2 separate regions of the Homo sapiens genome follow, and region 2 is linked to region 1. Evidence: promoter capture Hi-C in human tissues and cell types (Jung and others, 2019). All regions are on one chromosome and are shown on one strand. The core of a region is centred on a gene start or on the middle of the fragment in contact, and the rest is flanking DNA. Distances in the headings are between cores, read along the strand shown. Region 1 holds the start of CAMKK1 (calcium/calmodulin dependent protein kinase kinase 1). Region 2 overlaps ANKFY1 (ankyrin repeat and FYVE domain containing 1).

Region 1 (4,553 bases), core at 287-2,786:
GGACCAGCAGGTGCAAACGCCATGAGGGGACAGTGCTTGCTCAGTATGAAGAACAGCAGGGAGGCTGACGTGGCTGGAGTGGAGTCTTCCCCACATAAGAGGCACCTGATAGCAAGAGGAGTTACATCTGGAGAGAAAGCCCCCTCACTCATTGTGCTGGCCTCAGGGATGGCTTCCTAGAGGAGGTGGCACCTGAGCTCTCTTCTGAGCACTGAGCAGGATTTCAGGATGAGGCGAGGATGGAAGTTTGCACTGTGCATATAGGAGAGTCATTTCCTGGCTGGGACTCCGGGCTTGGTTTGGGGGTGGGGAGAGCTTGGTGGACAGAGCCCAGGAGGCCCCCAAAGCCAGGGGGAGGTTGTGAGCAGGGGAGTGCCTCGGTTAGGTGAGGTTTAAAACGACTCCCATGGCTGCTGTGAGGACTGACGGTGGGAGACCGAGGAAGAGGCGAAGGGTCCCCAGAGTGTGTGCGCCTGGGACGCAGTGGGGGGTCAATTTGTATGTACTGGAGGAAAGAGGGCAGGGCTTGGGGAGGCCAGCGCCACTTCCCTGGGATCCTCCAGCGCGCACAGGCTGTGTGCCCCTCCCACACTCCTGTGCCCGCCCTGCGGACACCACCAAGGCCCGGTCCTGTGGCCTGTGACACAGCCTTCTCTGCACAGCCCTGCAACGCCAAGACTTGAGCACACCCCCTCCCCTGACAGGCACACGCCCGTGTCCGCGTGACCCGCCCTCACACACCACTCCATCCTGTCCTGCACCCCCCACGCAGACACAGGCACACTCCCGCGTCCACGTGACACACGCACACCCGCCTCCAAACAGCACACGCAGGTCCCTGCGCACGTGGACACCCCCCCAGCCACCAGCCCTGCGCCTCCCGGGCCCCGAAGCCGCAGCGCCCGCCTCTGCCGCCCCCTCTCGCCCCAGCCAAGGCAGGACCCTGCGCAGCCTGAGCCGCGCGCCGCCGCCGCCCCATTCATCTCCCACCCCGCCCCCGGCTCCTGCAGGAAGACGCTCCGGCGGGCCGTGGGAGGAGCGCTCCGCGGAGAACCGCACGTGGGTGCCCCGGGCCGGGCCCACTCCGCACAGACGTGGCCTCCACCAGGAGCCGGGCGCGGGGGACAGTGCACCGGGGATGGATGCGGTCCGCAGACAGAAGCGGGGAAGAACGCAGACGGCGGGGCACCCGCGGCGATGCGGTCCCGGCGGCCGGCGCAGACCCGAGCAGACTCCGCGAGGCACCCCGCAGACCCGGCCCCGCAGACAGAAGGGGAAGGATCCCCGCCCTGACCAGATCCCAGCTCCCTCGTAGACGCGGCCTGGCAGACCCCCCCCGCCTCTCCCTTGCAGGCTCGGGGCAGGTGTTAAGGCGTTCGTCCTCCTGCTCCTCGCCCGCGTCCCCGCCCCGCCGATCCCTACCTGGGCGCCGGGCGACAGTGTCCGCGGCCCGGCGGGCGGCCCCACTCGCTCCTGCTGCGCGCCCCGCCCCGCCCCGCCCCGCCCCACCGCCTCGCTGGGGCCCAGATCGCCGAGCTCAGCCCGCGGGCGCCGCGGCTCCGGGCAGCGCTCGCTGCCCCGCCCACCGCCGCGCCCGGCCGGCGCTCATTGGTCGGAGCGAACGGCCCCGCCAGCGCCGCCCAATCGGAGCCCGGGACTCCCGCCCCCTCCTGGACTAAGGGACCGCGGTGGGCGGCGCGGTAGGGGCCCTCCCTCCCCTGCGGCGGGGCCGACCTCGCCACGCCCCCGGCGTCCTGGGGTCCCCGAAGTCCCTCCCGGCCGCGGCGTGGGCCCTTCTCCTGGGCCTGCAGGGGACCGTGCTTCCCCGCCAAACCCTTTGCGCCCCCATCCCGGCCTGCAGGAGCCAGAGCGCCCCTCCCTCCCGGGCGAGGCGCGGTGCGTGCGAGGGAGGGGCGAGGCCCGGGGAGGAAGGCCTTGAATGGCAGGCCCAGGAGTGTAGCTTCTGCGGGGCGGGGGCAGAGAGGCCGAGAGGTGGCTTAGCACAGAGTGAAGTGCTTGCTCGGTGAGCCGGCGACAGGAATGGCCTAGCGAGGGCCGAGGGAGTAGAGGGAACTCAGCAGGACAGTGAGGTGACCTTCGCTGTGGCTGTTCCTGGGGACTCTGCCGCCACCTCTTCCCCTAACGCCTCCGCGTGTGAATCCTCTGGCACCACCACTTGCCCCATATCCTTCCCCCAAATCTAACCTCCTGCGTCCCTGTCTCGAAGTGGAGCCAGGAGCCTGGGAGTCACCTGCTGCCTCCCTGTTTCCTGCTCCAACCAGTCCATCTCCAGGCCCTGCCATACTGCCTCTTAACTATCCCTGGAATCGGCCCACTCCTCTCCACCCCACTTCCCCTCCCTTAGCTCAGGCTACCACCATCTTGTCCCTGATTGCTGCAGCAGCCTCCTCCCTGGCCTCCAGCCCCATCCAGTCTCACCTCCTACTAGCCTTTCTCTCCCTGGCACCCAGAGCAAGTTTTCAGGAACACAAGTCCACCGAGAGGCATTTTCTATGGCTCACCGTGAGAATAGGTCTAATCAAGCCCTGTATAGCCTTACTCCCAGCCACCTGCCTGTTTAACGCCTACTCGTCTTTCAGGGTTCAATTCAATCCTACTTCTGCCTGGAAACCTTCTCCATGACCTCCCCACTTCCAGCATGGGTTAGTGGCCCCACCCAGGTACTTCCTTGTACCTGGCATCTGTTTACCTGCTGGTTCCTCATTGGGACTGGGAGCTCCTGGATGGCAAGCACTGTGCCTGATTCGTCCAGCACACAGCCTGTCGCATGGCACAGGTGCTCAGTGGATGTTGTTGAATGAATAATTCCAGCAACTTGAGTGTGGCTTTTGACCTCATGGTTCAGGATACCAGCTAGAGCTCCAGCAATCACATAACGCATTCCAGGCAGTGGAGTGGAGAAAAGGATGAAGAAGAGGGCAGAGGGTCTGCACCAGCTCTCTTTTCAGGAAAGTTCCCAGAAGTTGCCACGTGGCACTTTCACATACACCGCTTGAGCTTACTTAACATGACCAGACCCAGCTGCAAGAGAAAGCTGGGAAATGCAGCTTCCATTCTGGGCAGCCACATGCCCAACCAAGAACCAAGGACTGAATTGCTACCGGGAGAACAGATATCCGGAACAACTAGTGGACTCCACCATTGAGAGGGTGGATAGATTGAGGGGCAGAGCTCGACTGTATGCCAGGTGCTGTTTACAGGTCTTTCCTCAACCCTACTAAAAGCTATTATTGTCCGGGTGCAGTAGCTCATGCCGGTAATCCCAGCCCTTTGGAAGGCTGAGGTGGAGCGTATCATTTGAGCCCAGGAGTTTGAGAACAGCCTGGTCCACATAGTGAAACTCTGTCTCTATTTAAAAAAAAAAAAAAAAAGAAGTTGTTATTATCCTTGACTCACAGAGGAGGCTTGGAGAGTTAAGCCACTTCCCCCAAGGACACACAGTGAACTGTGGCAGAGCTGCAATTGAAACCTGTCTTTTCCTTGCACGCCAGACAGGCTGGGAAGTCAGGAAAGGGTGTGTCCTAGGAGCTGCTGGAAGGAAATCTTTCGACAAGGAAGGCTTGGACAACAATGTGAGAAGCTGTCAGGCCAAGCAGGATATGGGGCCCAAGTGTCTGCTTAAGACTTGGCAACCAGGACACTGCCAGTGACCTTGGCAAGGGCACCTAGGAGAAGTGGTTGGGGTGGAGGCCAATTGCAGAGGGAAGTGTGGACTGGTCTTTCTGGAAGGGTTGCAGTGAGGGGAGAGGGGCAGAGCTGCTGGGGAACCTGGGCCAGGAGGAGGCAGAAGAGGGGGACAGATGTAGGGGTAGGAGAATGGAGGTGGCTTCTGCTGGGCAGCCTCTGGGCTGGGTGGTGAGGCTGAATACAGAGGAGGGACCCTTTTCTGCTCACTTGGAAGGGAAGGGGGCAGAAAGTGCAAAAGCAGGTGTGTCTGGAGAAAGAAGGGGGGGCAGAAGAGGAAGTTCCAGTCTTATAAAATCTAAATGATAGGTCTTGGTTGGGGAAGAGGGCAGAAGGCCAAGGCCCTGAGGGAGATGGCAGGGGCTGGCCTGTGTTGTCCAGTCTGGTAGCCACTAGTCACATGTAACTATTTAAATTAATTAAAAGTAAATTGGGCAGTCATGGTGGCTCCCGCCTGTAATCCCAGCACTTTGGAAGGCCGAGGCAGGCGGATCACCTGAGGTCAGGAGTTTGAGACCAGCCTGGCCAACCAACATGGTGAAACCCCATCTCTACTAAAAATACAAAAAAAAATTAGCAAGGCGTGGTGGTGGGCACCTGTAATCCTAGCTACTTGGGAGGCTGAGGCAGGAGAATTGCTTGAGCTCAGGGGCTGGAGGCTGCAGTGAGCCGAGATCGTGCCACTGCACTCCAGCCTGGGCGACAGAGCAAAATTCCGTCTCAAAAAAAAAATATTGATTAATTAATTAAAAGTAAATAAAATACGAATTTCATTTCCTTGGCTGCATATTTCCACCGAGGCCACCTGTGGCTTCTGGGTACCCTATTGGACAGCATAGATAGAGAAT
Region 2 (4,298 bases), core at 731-3,230, 370 kb after region 1:
GCACCACGCCCAGCCCACAAATATGGATGTTTAAAAGCTCCCAGGTGGCCAGGCGCGGTGGCTCATGCCTGTAATCCCAGCACTTTGGGAGGCCAAGGCGGGCGGATTACGAACTGAGGAGATCGAGACCATCCTGGCTAACAGAGTGAAACCCCGTCTCTATTAAAAATACAAAAAATTAGCCAGGCGCAGTGGCGGGCGCCTGTAGTCCCAGCTACTCAGGAGGCGGAGGCAGGAGAACGGCGTGAACCCGGGAGGTGGAGCCTGCAGTGAGCTGAGATCGCACCACTGCACTCCAGCCTGGGCAATAGAGCGAGACTCCATCTCAAAAAAAGAAAAAACTCCCAGGTTAACTGTACTGTGCAGGGTTCTCCAGGTTGAGAACTATGTACTAATGGAACGAGGGAGAGAGGAAAGCACAGATGTGAGAGGTGTACAGCATCCGGGGGATTTGGTGACTGATGCAGATCTTGGGGGGAGTCGGAGATAACTTTTTGGTGACTGACTTGAGAGTCTGGCTGAAAAGTAGTGCCATTAATCATGAATATAGAAGAGAAAACCTGGTATAACTAGAAAGCAACATGCATGCTTATTTGAAATACTTTGCCTTCCCCTCTCTGTTCTGCAAGTTCCATTAAGGTTAAGGTTGTGTCTTGCTCATTTTGTCATCTCTGGCACAGTAGCTTGCACCTACCGTGAAATACGTTTTTCCTGAATGCAATTCAACTCTGCTAGGTTCGTCTGCCTCATGTTACAGTTGGTGGCATGACTTACACATCTTTCAAAAGCTCACCGTGTATAGCAGTGACAATTGGGCTGGTTTCATAAGAGATGCATAACAAATATTAGCTAACTAGCCATTTCCACCCCAAACTCCTGACTGGAAACACTTCCAACTTAGACATCACCACATAGAAGTATACTGGGCAAAGCAAATATGTCCAAAAGTGAGGTCAAAATACTTGTTCTCCAATCTATTCCTCCTCTACCTCTTAGCAGCTCAGCCATTTGTCTGAGTCATCCAGACCTAGAACTTGAGTCATCTTTGATTCTCTCTCATCAACATTCAACCAGGTTTCAAAAGTCCTGTCTTTCATACGTTCTGTGGTCTTTCTCCCATCAGTCCTCACCAGCCCCACAGCCTCTACCAAATGGCTCACCATCAACTGCTACAGCTTGCTCTCTGACTTCCTTTCTTCCCAATCCATCCTCTACACTGCAGTCATTTCGCCATGCCTCACACAATTCCTGTTCTGTCGCTACCGTGGCTGATTCCTTTCGGTAGTATCGCTCCATGAGTCTCAGAATAAAATCCAAATGCTGAACCAATGCCCTTAATAATCTGGCCCTTAACATACTCTTCCAACTTCACATCCCACTAATTCCTTCCACCTAGAACAGTGACCTCTCCTCAATCTCATGTCCCCATGTCCAAAGGAGGGCCATTTTTCAAAGCTCAGTTCAAGCAATGTCTCCTGCAACAAGACTTTCCCTGATTATCCAAAATACATTCCCCATTACTTCCTTAAAAAATCTCTCCCTGAGTTTTCAAAGTAACTCCTAAGCATTTTTTACCCTTCACCTTAAAATATAGTTTCTCATATACAATTTCTTTTATCTCCCCTCCTAGACTTCAGAACTCCCTGTGAATAAGCTTTAGTTCTGGCTATTCGTATTTAACTATCAATTACTTCTCCCTCTATACCCATTCCATGGTTATCTCCTCCTCCCGACAGTACCTTACCAGATGGAGTTCAATAAATACCACAGGTTCAACAGGAGATTCTGGGGACATAGCAATTTCTCATTTGGTTCAGCAAGGCTGTAAATCATGATAGTATCTCAAATTGCCTACAGCAAATCACCTTGCCAGTGACAGAATCCTGTGTATCTCAGCACAATTCAGTAGCTTTACTTTGACATAACCACTAATGGATAAATTTTATTTCTCAGTAAAAATAATTCACAAGGAGAAAGCTAACAGCTACAGCTGGTGACAGTAGTCACCAGGAAAGGGAGAGAAAAGAAAAGAATGGTATAAAAGGAACAGTCCTTAAGAGGTCTCTGGACTATATATAATTATCAATGACCTGGGACATTTGTTCAATAAGTAAAACAATAAACAGATAAATTTCAGAAGTAGGGCCGGGCGCGGTGGCTCACGCCTGTAATCCCAGCACTTTGGGAGGCCGAGGCGGGCGGATCACGAGGTCAGGAGATCAAGACCATCCTTGCTAACACGGTGAAACCTCATCTCTACCAAAAATACAAAAAATTAGCCAGGCTTGGTGGCGGGCGCCTGTAGTCCCAGCTACTCGGGAGGCTGAGATAGGAGAATGGTGTGAACCTGGGAGGGGAGCTTGCAGTGAGCCGAGATCGCACCACTGCACTCCAGCCTGGGAGACAGAGCCAGACTCCAACTCAAAAAAAAAAAAAAAAAGTGGAAACAGCAAAGTTCCTTCTTTCCTTATTTCTACCAGCCTCCACTAATGAAGCATTTTCTGGAACAGGACTATCCAAAGCACTTCTGGCAATGGTGCAAGTGTTCTATTAATCTGTGCTGTCCATTAGGGGGAGCTACTAGCCACATGGCTACTGAGTACTTGGAATAGGACTAGTACAACTGAGAAGTTAATTTTAAATTTTATTTAATTTTAATCAAATTTAAGTAGCCACATGTGGCTAGTGACTATTGTGTTGGTCAATGAATACCCAGGACATGGAATGTTTTCCCCATTTTGCTTGGGTTGTTGTCAAAAGTATTTTTCTGATCAAATTCCATCAAGCTAACAAAAGTTTATGATAAATTTTCTGTTCAATATACTATTTACAAAAAAATTACATTTTTTTCAATTTTTACTTTTACTGAGGAAAAGAAATGGAGAGTGATTTTAGAGGAGACTCAAGAGAAAGACTGTGCACCAGGGTGAAAGCATCAGGCGCTGTGGGAAAAGCATCAGTCGCTGTGGAAGAAACATTAGGCGCTGTGGAAAAAGGCTCTTCCTGCAACTGAGAAATATCCTAGGATTCCCACAGCTACTTGTGAGCTACAGATGATCCCCCTTTTAAAGCTGAGGACACTGAGACTGACAGCAATTAATTGACTTGCTTATGATCACAGCTTAAACTAGGATTTAAATCCATGTCCAGCTGCAGAGTCTGAGCTCTTAAACACTACATTTTATTTTATTATTATTATTTTTTGAGACAGTCTCTGTTGCTCAGGCTGGAGTGCGGTGGCGCGATCTCGGATCACTGCAACCTCCACCTTCCGGGTTCAAGTGATTCTCCTGACTCAAGTCTCCTGAGCAGCTGGGATTACAGGCACATGCCACCATGCCTGGCTAATTTTTGTATGTTTAGTAGAGATGGGGTTCCACCATGTTGGTCAGGCTGGTCTGGAACTCCTGACCTCAAGTGATCCGCCCACCTTGGCCTCCCAAAGTGCTGAGATTACAGGCGTGAGCCACCGTGCCCGGCCTTAAACATTGTATTTTAGTTGCTAAAACAAAAATGGGCTGGATGAAAAGTAGGTTAGGTAGCTCCTAGCAGACTTAGGTTATGCAGAGTATAATAAAAGGTGGACCAGCCAGTTTGCTTGACAAGAGGCTAAGGATGTATCCAGGCAACTTTTCTTGATGGCTAGCAGGTGATGCTCAATAAATTCATACATTCCTTCAACCACAGCCATGATTCTAAGCTGGGAGATACAGGAGTGAGCAAAACAGACCAAGTTCCTGCCCTCATGGGGTTTATATTCCAGTGAGGGATGCTCTCTAATGAGATGACAACTGAACAGACACTGAGTGAATAAAGTGGGTCAGTTGTGTGGAGAAACAGCGGAGGACTGTTCCAGGCCAAGGAAACTGCAGGGACAAAGACGCAGAGGTAGCAGCATGTCGGGCACACACAAAGAACGCAAAAAAGTCAGTGTGGCAGGGGCACAGTGAATGAAAGTAGGAAATAAGCTCGAAGTGTTAAGTGGGGCCCACACCCTGTTAATACTTAACAGAGAACTGGAATATATTTTAAGATTACGGAGAAGTGTGAGAGTTGGGCATTGAGGGGCAGGAGTATTAAGAAGAGTAGGAGAGACATGATCTGATTGATGTCTTAAAGGGAACACTAGAAACTGTGAAATTAGGCTGTGAGAGAGCAAAATCTAGGAGGAAAAGTTAAAAGCAAACTTTTAATTGGAACCTTTTGAAGTAGTTCACTTACAAACGAAGCTTAGGGCTGGGAGCGGTGGCTCACACCTGTAATCCCAGCACTTCAGGAGGCCCAGGCAGGTGAATGGC

What was found. Contacts are between HindIII fragments. The study calls those that stand out against the background at their distance.
Region 2: a fragment that was not itself captured here is called in contact with the fragment with the promoter of CAMKK1 in region 1 in 2 of the 25 tissues and cell types used here (dorsolateral prefrontal cortex and lymphoblastoid cells).

The regions. Positions count from the first base shown.
Region 1 is chr17:3,891,517-3,896,069 of GRCh38, forward strand. It overlaps CAMKK1 (calcium/calmodulin dependent protein kinase kinase 1), which reads right to left and starts at 1,537. Exons shown (of 16, transcript NM_032294.3): 1 at 1,423-1,537. RefSeq lists silencers at 844-1,093, 1,234-1,413, 1,444-1,983. The HindIII fragment of the contact is 23,333 bases long and covers 1-4,553 here.
Region 2 is chr17:4,256,101-4,260,398 of GRCh38, forward strand. All of the region lies in intron 1 of ANKFY1 (ankyrin repeat and FYVE domain containing 1), which reads right to left. Among named protein-coding and RNA genes, the nearest start is that of ANKFY1, 5.7 kb to the right of the region's middle. The HindIII fragment of the contact is 5,645 bases long and covers 1-4,298 here.